2 separate regions of the Homo sapiens genome follow, and region 1 is linked to region 2. Evidence: promoter capture Hi-C in 16 types of primary human blood cells and fetal thymus (Javierre and others, 2016). All regions are on one chromosome and are shown on one strand. The core of a region is centred on a gene start or on the middle of the fragment in contact, and the rest is flanking DNA. Distances in the headings are between cores, read along the strand shown.

The links. Contacts are between HindIII fragments. The CHiCAGO score rates a contact against its expected background, and 5 or more counts as called.
Region 1: a contact is called between a fragment that was not itself captured here and the fragment with the promoter of TAB3-AS1 in region 2, in 1 of 17 cell types (neutrophils). The highest score is 5.8, in neutrophils.

The regions. Positions count from the first base shown.
Region 1 is chrX:30,532,080-30,536,943 of GRCh38, forward strand. No RefSeq gene overlaps it. Among named protein-coding and RNA genes, the nearest start is that of TASL, 43 kb to the right of the region's middle. The HindIII fragment of the contact is 2,809 bases long and covers 1,196-4,004 here.
Region 2 is chrX:30,831,214-30,836,068 of GRCh38, forward strand. It overlaps TAB3-AS1 (TAB3 antisense RNA 1), which reads left to right and starts at 3,410. Exons shown (of 3, transcript NR_145449.1): 1 at 3,410-3,550; 2 at 3,984-4,082. TAB3 (TGF-beta activated kinase 1 (MAP3K7) binding protein 3) reads right to left here. Exons shown (of 11, transcript NM_152787.5): 10 at 2,838-2,939; 11 at 1-362. The coding sequence ends at 214. The HindIII fragment of the contact is 4,366 bases long and covers 1,325-4,855 here.

The sequences.
Region 1 (4,864 bases), core at 1,350-3,849, 300 kb before region 2:
AGCCCATTTTCTTTTCATTTATCAACTTTTATTTTAGGTCAGGGGATACATGCACAGCTTTGTTCTATGGGTAAATTGTGTCTTGGGGTCTTGAGATACAAATGATCCCATCACCCAGGTAGTGGGCATAGCACCCAATAGGTAGTTTTTCAACATTTGCTTCCCTTACGCCCTCCCTCCTCTAATAGTACCCACTGTCTATTGTTTCCATCTTTTAAAAAAAATTTTATTTTTAATTTTTGTGAGTACATAGTAGGTGTATATATTTACAGGTTACATGAGATATTTTGATAAAGGCATGCAATGAATAATAATCACATCAGAGCAAATGTAATATCCATCACCTTAAGTATTCATTCTTTGTATTACAAATAATCCAATTATACTCTTAGTTATTTTAAAATGTACAATTATTATTGACTATAGTTGCCCTGTTGTGTTATCAAATAGTAAGTCTTATTCATTTTTTCTAACTCTATTGTTTCCATCTTTATGTCCTTGTATTGTCAATGTTTAGCTTCCACTTACAAAAGTGAGAACATACAGTATTTGATTTTCTGTTTCTGTGTCAATTCTCTTAGGATAATGGCCTCCAGCTGCAACCATGTTGCTGCAAAAAAAAAAAAAAAAAACCAACAAAAAAAACATGACTTTGGGTTTTTTTATGGCTGCATACTACTCCATGGTGTATATGTACCACACATTTTGTTCATCCAGTTCACCATTGATGGGCATTTAGTTTCATTCCATGTCATTGCTATTGTAAATAGTGCAAGCAGCCAATTTTGAAGTTTTGACTGCTAACAGAATTTCTGAGTTGAGAAAACTTTTCAGTTTGTCTGATCACCACCACAACTAAAGCAAAAGTTTTGTAATACGAATGCAAAAGACAAAAGCACATTGATATAGATTTTGAGGGGAGAAGATTTTTTAAATTCTTATAATTCCCTTTAGCATGTTGTTTTTAAATTTTTAATTGACAAAATTGTATATATTAGACATTTATGAGGTACAATGTGATGTTTAGATATATATTTACAATATAAAATGATTAAATCATTTGCTAATTAACAAATCTGTAACTTCACACACTTTTTTGTTGTGAAAACATTTTAAATCTCCTCTTTTAGTAATTTTGAAGTATATGATGCATTATTATTTATTATAGTCACCATTCTATGCAATAGATCACTAAAGCTTATTCGTCCTGTTTAACTAAAATTGTCACCCTTTGATCAACATTTCCCCTTTCCCCATTCACTCCTCTTACTCAGCATCTGGCAACCACCACTTGATTCTCTACTTTTATGAGTTCAACTTTCTTAGATCCTTTAGCATATTGTCTAGGTCAGGGTTCAGTTGTACAAGGCAGACTGCACTTTAGCTAGCTCAAGCAGGAAGGAATTTGTATTAGTCCATACTCATGCTACTATGAAGAAATACCCGAGACTGAGTAATTCATAAGGAAAAGAGGTTTAATTGACTCACAGTTCTGTATGGTTGGGAAGGCCTCAGGAAACTTAAAATCATGGCAGAAGGGGAAGCAGGCACTTTCTTCACAAGGCAAGGAGAAGTGCCCAGCAGCAAAGGTGGAAGAGCCCCTTATAAAAAACAACAGATCTTGTGAGAACTCCCTCACTATCAAGAGAACAGCATGGGGGAACCACCCCCATGATCCAATTTATCTCCACCTGATCCCACCCTTGACCCGTAAGGATTATTACAATTCAAGGTGAGATTACAATTCAAGGGACACAGAGCCAAACCATATCAGAATTCATTATAGAATTGTGGTAGGAGCTGAAGAAAAAAACTCTAGTTTGAGTTTTCAGGAACAACTTCTACAGACTCACCATGGAACCTGGCTATCAGGGCAGCTGCTGCCTCTTATGTGATCAAGAGGCTCCTGGTTCCAGAACTGTGTTGTTATTGCCATCATCAGGAAACCACCACGATCAAGAAACTGCTGCTGTGAGCTCCAGAGGTGTGCCATTCCTGCTATGATTCATACAAGCAAAATGAATGCCCTGAGTCCTGTTTCTCAACATCATGAGTGGGTCCTGAGACCTCTGTTAATGCTGCCACAGAGGAGTGATTAAATGTGGGGCTCCCCATCATAAGGGGCATATTCCCCCCACAGTGACTTCTTGAAACTCATTTGAGCTAATGCAGATTGAGACCTGACCTCTGACCCTTTCCCCATAGCCGTCAATGAAAAAAAGTAGCTCATATTCCAAGAAATATGTCAACAGGCCAATACATCAAGATATCTGAAGAAGAGGATTCTTTCAAGAGAAAAGTGTTTGAAAAGATTTCATCTAAAGCAGAAATATTACAACACAGCGAACACTTGTTTTTAAAAAGAATAATAAACATAATACAATATATCTTTTTATGAAAGACACACCTAAATCATCAAGGACATGCAAAGGTTGAAAGTGAAAGGATAAAAGAAGTCATATAAGGCAAATACTTAACAAGAGAAGCCCAGTATATATGTTAGTATCAGACAAAATAGATTTTTTTTTCAAGCAAAGCATTATTAGAGTGAGAGCAGGTAGGTACAAATGACATTCATTTTGCCAAAAAAGTATAGAAATTTTTAACTATGGATGAACCTAATAAAATAGCTTCAAAATATGTAGAGATAAAATTGATAGAACAACAAAAGCAAAAAAAAAAAAAAAGAAATTGATGCCATCATGGTGGGAGATTTCAACATACCTCTCCCAATTATCAATAGCTTAAGGAGATAAAATTCAGAAAGCATATAACAAGTCTAAATAATGCAATTAAAAATCGTGATCTAATAGACCTACATAGAACTTTGCATCCAGAAATTTGAGAACTTGCATTCTTTTAAAAAATGTATTTTGTAAATGAGACAGTAAAAAAAACTGGATAATGTACTGAGCCACAAAATGAACCCTAATAAATTTCAAAGCATAGGTATTATGCAGATTATTTTCTCTGACAACTCGATTAAGTTAGAAAGACAACAAAAATAACAAATATACTTACTACTGCAAGACAATTTTCCATGGGTCTTATATTTCTGCATGTCTTATGAGCAGAGGCACTGACTGGCTTTTTCTCAGGCCATCTTTTCAAGGATATTTGTATACTAGACAGCTTTGGAAGATAAAGATAGCATCTCCCTCTAGAGCAAAGGGCAAGCATGCTTACTGTACAGTATAAAAGATCTGAGTTTCTTAAGCTCTGAATTCTTTCCTGTAACACAACTCGCTGTAAATGCACATGTCACCTGGCTCTCTTCATCACCCTGGTGAAATTGGGGTTTGAGGACTCAGCACATGAAAATGCTGATACACTGACCACTGCTAATGCTGTGTTTTATAAGGTCCTTTGTCACTGACCTAGCAGTCTCAAATCTGTTCATCAATATTAACTTGTTATCTTCTAAGTAGGGTAAAATCTCAGATCCTTCATGATGGGTTGATATCCATGTTTTCAGAAATTTTAAAAACACACTGATAAGTAACTCATAATGAAAATTGTGATATGTTTAAAAGAAAATTATAATAAAAATACTGTATATCAAAACTTAAGGCACATAGGAAAAGCAGTGCTTTGAAGGAAGTGTTATAGCCTTAAATACTTATTTTAGGGGGAAAAGCTATGAAGTAATTAGACATCTGAAAGAGAATATTAGACTAAACATAAAAAAAGCAGACGAATAATAAAAAGAGTGTAAATCAATGAAATAGGAGTGACGTGCAAAAATGCAACAAAGACAAAAATTGGGCTTTTGGGAAAAAATTACAAAATAAGTATACTTTCAGCAAGATTCATAAAGAAAAGAAGGCAGAGAAAGAGAAAGAGAGGAGGCACCAAAGTAAAAATGATAAATGAAAAATAACCAAACTTAGATAAAGCAGAGAATAAAAAGATAATAAGCACACATCAACTTTAATGCATTAGGCAAAATGGACAAATTTCTAGAAAAATATAATTAGCAGAACTGATTTGAGAAACACATTATAAGCTTCAATGGTCCTGTTAATATTAAATAAATTAAAGCAATAATTTCAAATCTCTTTTAAAGCAAATACCAATCTCAAAACAGATAATCTTAATCTCATTCAAATGCTTTCAGAGAATATAAAAAGAAAAAAAGGGATTCCTTCCCTAACTCATCTATTAATCCTGCATATATCTGAGATCAAAAATGCATAAAAGCAGTACAAAAAAGGAGCATAACAAACCTATTTTGCTCATTAATATAGACTTAAAAAAATAGCGTTTGCAAAAATCCTCAACAAAATACTAGCAAGCCAAATCCAGCTGCACATCAAAAAGCTAATCCACCACGATTAAGTAGGCTTCATCCCTGGGGCACAAGGTTGGTTCAACATATGCAAATCAATAAATGTGATTCATCACATAAACAGAACTGAAAAACACATGATTATCTCAATAGATGCAGAAAAGGCTTTTGGTAAAATTCAACATCTCTGTATATTAAAAACCCTTAACAAACCAGGCATTGAAGGAACATACTTCAAAATAATAAGAGCCACCTATGATAAACGCACAGCCAACATCATACTGAATTGGCAAAAGTTGGAAGCATTCCCCTTGGAAACTGGAATAAGACAAGGATGCCCTCTTTAACCACTCCTATTCAACATAATTTTGGAAGTCCTAGCCAGAACAATGAGGCAAGAGAAGGAAATAAAAGGCATCCAAATAGGAAGGAAGGAAGTCAAACTATACTTGTTTGCAGATGACATAATCCTACACCTAGGAGGCCCCATAGTCTCTGCCCAAAACCTCCTTGATCTGATAAACAATTTCAGCAAAGTTTCAGGATACAAAATCAATGTACAAAAATCAGTAGCAT
Region 2 (4,855 bases), core at 2,160-4,659:
TATCTCTCACTCTGTAGTGAGTTAAGAAAGGAGAAAAAAAAGACCTCCCCATTTTTCCTTTCGTGAGCACAACGACGACCACAAAGCCATTCCTCCTCCCCGCTGTGCAATCGAAAATGAAAAGGCTGGGTGGATGAATAGAGTCCCGAGGTTTCCTTTTCTTCTGGTAGTGCTCAAAGTTTCACTTTCAACCTGGCGCAGACTTTTCTGAATTCAGGTGTACCGTGGCATCTCGCACTGCTCACAGCGATTTAGTGCTGGGTGGTTAAGAAAGGTGCAGCTATCACAATTCCATGGAGCCCCTTCGTAGTCTTCATCTCGAGGTTGTGTCCGAGGACTTTGTGTGGAGCCAGTTCGATGCTCTGAGGGAGGTTAGGATTAAGGGGGAGGGGGAAGGTAAATAGATTAACCTTTTTCCAAGTATAATCCAAACTGAAAAGAAAAATACCACAAAAATCAAGGGAGGTAATTGCCTACTTTAATATGTAAGCCAATTAGTAAATATATCTACTGGAAATGCATAGTTGAACAGAAAGTTGATCTTTTACTTTGTTCTAATTACTTTTTTTCTGCTATAAGAAGATGGATATATGTCCAGAATAGATTGCCTTCCTAGGTCATTACCTGTAAATAGCGGAGAGTTATGCTTTATTCCAGCCAAATGAAGAAAAAGAGAAATGTTTTATAGCATGTTAAATTCTGTCGCCTCTGTAAGTTTTCCCTGACTTCAGCCCACCTTGACTTTTCCTCTCTATAGTATAATACTATCCACACTATATTAAACATCTGACTAAATGTGTGCCTTCTTCCATGACAACTTAAGCTCTACAATATGCATATGTTTTATATTAATGGTTCATAAATAGCAGTGGCAGTTCATACCAAAGTTTTCCTCAGAATAGTGAAAAGAGGAAGATTCTACAGTTCATTTTTCATAAAGCTAAATTCATTCAGTATAAAAGACTTTTATTCTCATATTCTTTCCTACATTTTTGGCATTAAAAATCCTTCATATATCAGTTTTTAAAAATGCCCATACCTGGCAACCTTATGTTGGTCCCCAGGATTTGAAAAAGATATCCAAACTTACATTCCTCTTAGGTCCTCATTCCCTCTGGCTTTGTGCTCAAAAAAGCTCTTTGCATCTAGAGTTAACCTGTAATTTCTGTCTTTTAGGTCTCTATTGAGACTGAGGTCAATAAATAGGAGACTAAAGATCTCCAGATGGAATTCACCCTGGAATCTGGGGTAACTGGAAATGAGATTAAGATCTGAGGTAAGCAACACCTTTTTAAATAGGTAACAAAAGAAACAGATCTAGGGAAGCTTTGTCAGTTACTATTTTGGGCTAGGCATATCTTCCACTGGAAATTAACAAGCTGACTTCTAGTTTATCAATTTGCCTTATATGACAAATGTTATAACATTCCCCAAGAGATAAGGAGAACTGAATTTTAGACCCTGAACCTTACCCCAAGGTATGATAATGCTCAGCCTCAAACAGGAAGGTGATCTTAGCCTTAGGATATAACAGAAAATTACTGGGTTTTTCAGCTGCTTCCTATGACTATAAATAGGAGATGGGCTTGTTTCTCTTGCTTCAACTATTGCTTTTTAACTGCCATTATCACCCACCTTGTGTCTTTTGGCTCATGACTCCAAAACATGTAGATTTAATACAGTTTTCTTTTTTGTCTCATATGGAGGAATAAAGCCTTCGGTTGGAGGAAAAATGTTTACTATGCCATTTTCTTTCTTTCTTTTTTTTTTTTTTTGAGACGGAGTCTTGCTCTGTTGCCCAGGCTGGAGTGCAGTGGCGTGATCTCGGCTCACTGCAAGCTCCGCCTCCTGGGTTCACGCCATTCTCCTGCCTCAGCCTCCTGTGTAGCTGGGACTACAGGCGCCTGCCACCGCACCCGGCTAATTTTTTGTGTTTTTAGTAGAGACAGGGTTTCACCGTGTTAGCCAGGATGGTTCGATCTCCTGACCTCGTGATCCGCCTGCCTCGGCCTCCCAAAGTGCTGGGATTACAGGTGTGAGCCACCGCACCCGGCCTACTATGCCATTTTCAGAAAAGGACCTCTTTTGTCTTTACCTTTTAAAAGAACAATATGCCCAAAAACGTAACACTTAAAAAAAAATTCGTATCTTACTGTTGCTGGTTTTTAATAGACATGCTCTAAAAACTCAATGTTGCTATAAGTGTAAAATATACACCACATTTCAAAGACTTAGTATAAAAAGGATGTAAAACATCTCACTGATAATTTTATATTGATTTCATATTGAAATAATATTTTGTATATACTGAATTATATAAAAATATATTAAAATTTGGCCAGGCACGGTGGCTCACGCCTGTAATCCCAGCACTTTGGGAGGCTGAGGCGGGTGGATCACGAGGTCAGGAGATCGATACCATCCTGGCTAACACAGTGAAACCCCGTCTCTACTAAAAACACAAAAAATTAGCCGGGCGTGGTGGCAGGCACCTGTAGTCCCAGCTACACAGGAGGCTGAGGCAGGAGAATGGTGTGAACCCAGGAGGCGGAGCTTGCAGTGAGCCGGGATAGCGCCACTGCACTCCAGCCTGGCCTAAAGAGCGAGACTCCGTCTCAAAAAAAAAAAAAAAAAAAAAAATTAATTTCATCTTTGCTACTAGAAAATTTTAAATTGTATATGTGGCTTGCATTATATTTCTACTGGACAGCACAGCCTTAGAAACTCGGTAATGTTTTTAAAGCAAAAAATAAAGGTATGGTTTTACTTATAATTCTACATGGATTAACATGTGTCTTTGGACATTCTGCACAAACTCTGGACACACAAGTACAAACCATCTGCAGCTGCTGCCTGGGTGTCATGGATGTCTGCCTGTACTTTGGAGGTCACGCTAATTCTTCGGGCTTTTCTCTCAATTGTGCAGGGGTCTGAGGAGTCTGCATAAAAATAAACAACGCCAGAAAGAAGTGATCCAGTCTTTCAACTGCAAGAGTGAACAGGCTCACAAGATCTTTCAAGCAACCCACACAGCTGAGTGCATTTACCCTACCTATTACTTCATGTTACCTTTAGCAAGGGCAGGCACCATATTTAATACTGCTTTTACAACCTATACAGAGCAGTGGTTCTTACAACTTTTTTCCATCTTCTCCAGTTACATCTTCTCCCATTACTTAGAACAAATGCCCTATTTCACTGTTTTCTACTTTTTAATGGATTAGGGGTACAAACTCAGTGATAGCAAATAAATGTCGATGTGAAAGCAAAATTTGGGAAATTTTACTTTAGCAATTATCTGATTAAGCAATAATTATTTAAAAATTATTTTAAAATTATGGGCACTATCCATACAGTAAGGCTATTACAATGATGAAATGTGATGAAAATGACAGGATTTTTTTTGTTTTGTTTTTGTTTTTTTTGAGACAGGGTCTTGTTCTGCTGTCCAGGCTGGAGTACAGTGGCACAATAATGGCTCACTGCAGCCTTGATCTCCTGGGCTCAAGTGATCCTCCTGCCTCAGCCTCCCAAGTATCCAAGACTACAGGTGCATGCCACTACCACGCCCAGCTAATTTTTTAAATTTTATTTTTTGTAGAGACAGGGTCTCTCGCTATGTTGCCCAGGCTGGTCTCAAACTCCTGGCCTCAAGTGATCCTCCCACCTCAGCCTCCCAAAGTGTTGGTATTACAGGCAGGAGCCACTGTGTCTGGTGGATTTTTTAAAAATAGCAGTACTTGAAAAATCAGAACCAACTCGATATAATAGTATATACTGACAACCACGTGCTCCCAAATCATTTCCTGAATTCCAATTACCTATGTGTGCAGAAGCCCAGCAGACACTTTGCAACACAGACAAGAACTGTAGGCATCCTAATATCTTGCTAGAAAATTGTTTCTATAAATTTATAGTTTATTAGTAAGCAACCCTTTGGATTAAAAATGAAAAATGGCAGCCTTTATATTATTTGCCCTTAGGAACCAAAGAAAGATCTTGCATTTTCTAATGAATTCTGAGCCCACAGTACAACTCATCTTTGGAAATCACTGCTCCAGAATCCAAAGCATGGTGCTCAGGTACTTAAATACTCCATTGTCTGAGTAAACAAAAGCAGAGTGAATGTCTCCTTAAGGCTCCAAAGAATAAGGTAAAGTTCTGTTTCTTAGATTTGCAAAGTACTTCTGTCGAGTCACATACCTTATCTCACTAACTCTTACAACCTTTGGAGTATTTGGCTGGATTGTCCCTCTATGGTGCTCAGATTGAGTTTGAACAAGGTCAGGTGGCCAAGATGACCAGGACCAGTGCTCAGATCGTGGGACACCAAGGTCAGTGTGCTTGCTTGCTTACTGATGAAGGTTGGGGAAGCTGTCTAAGCCCACTGAAGAGCACACATACACACTGTATTGTTTAACTACAAAGTCCAATCTACCACTGTTATGAGTTACTAATAAGGGTTGGGAGACATTCTAAGCCCGCTGAAGAGCACGTACACACTGTATTGCTTAACTACAAAGTCCAATCCAAAAAAGGTTTGTTTCTCTGTCTCTTTCTCTCTCTTTCCTTCTGTCTCCCTCACATTCTTTAATTATCACACTTAGAATTCAGATAAACTATATTAATTACACTTGGATTTCTGGTATATATCTGTAATAACTCCAAGACATTTATTTATTCGAACCAATAAACCTATTCTACCAGTAATTTGTGTTTTACTGGTTTATCTTTTTTCTTTTTGTATTTGAGTGGCCTGCAATAGCAGGCCAATCTGTGCTAAACTATATGTACTTTTAGAAAACGCCGATTTAGTTTCAAATACAATATGAGAATCTGCAAGTGCTTAATGGAA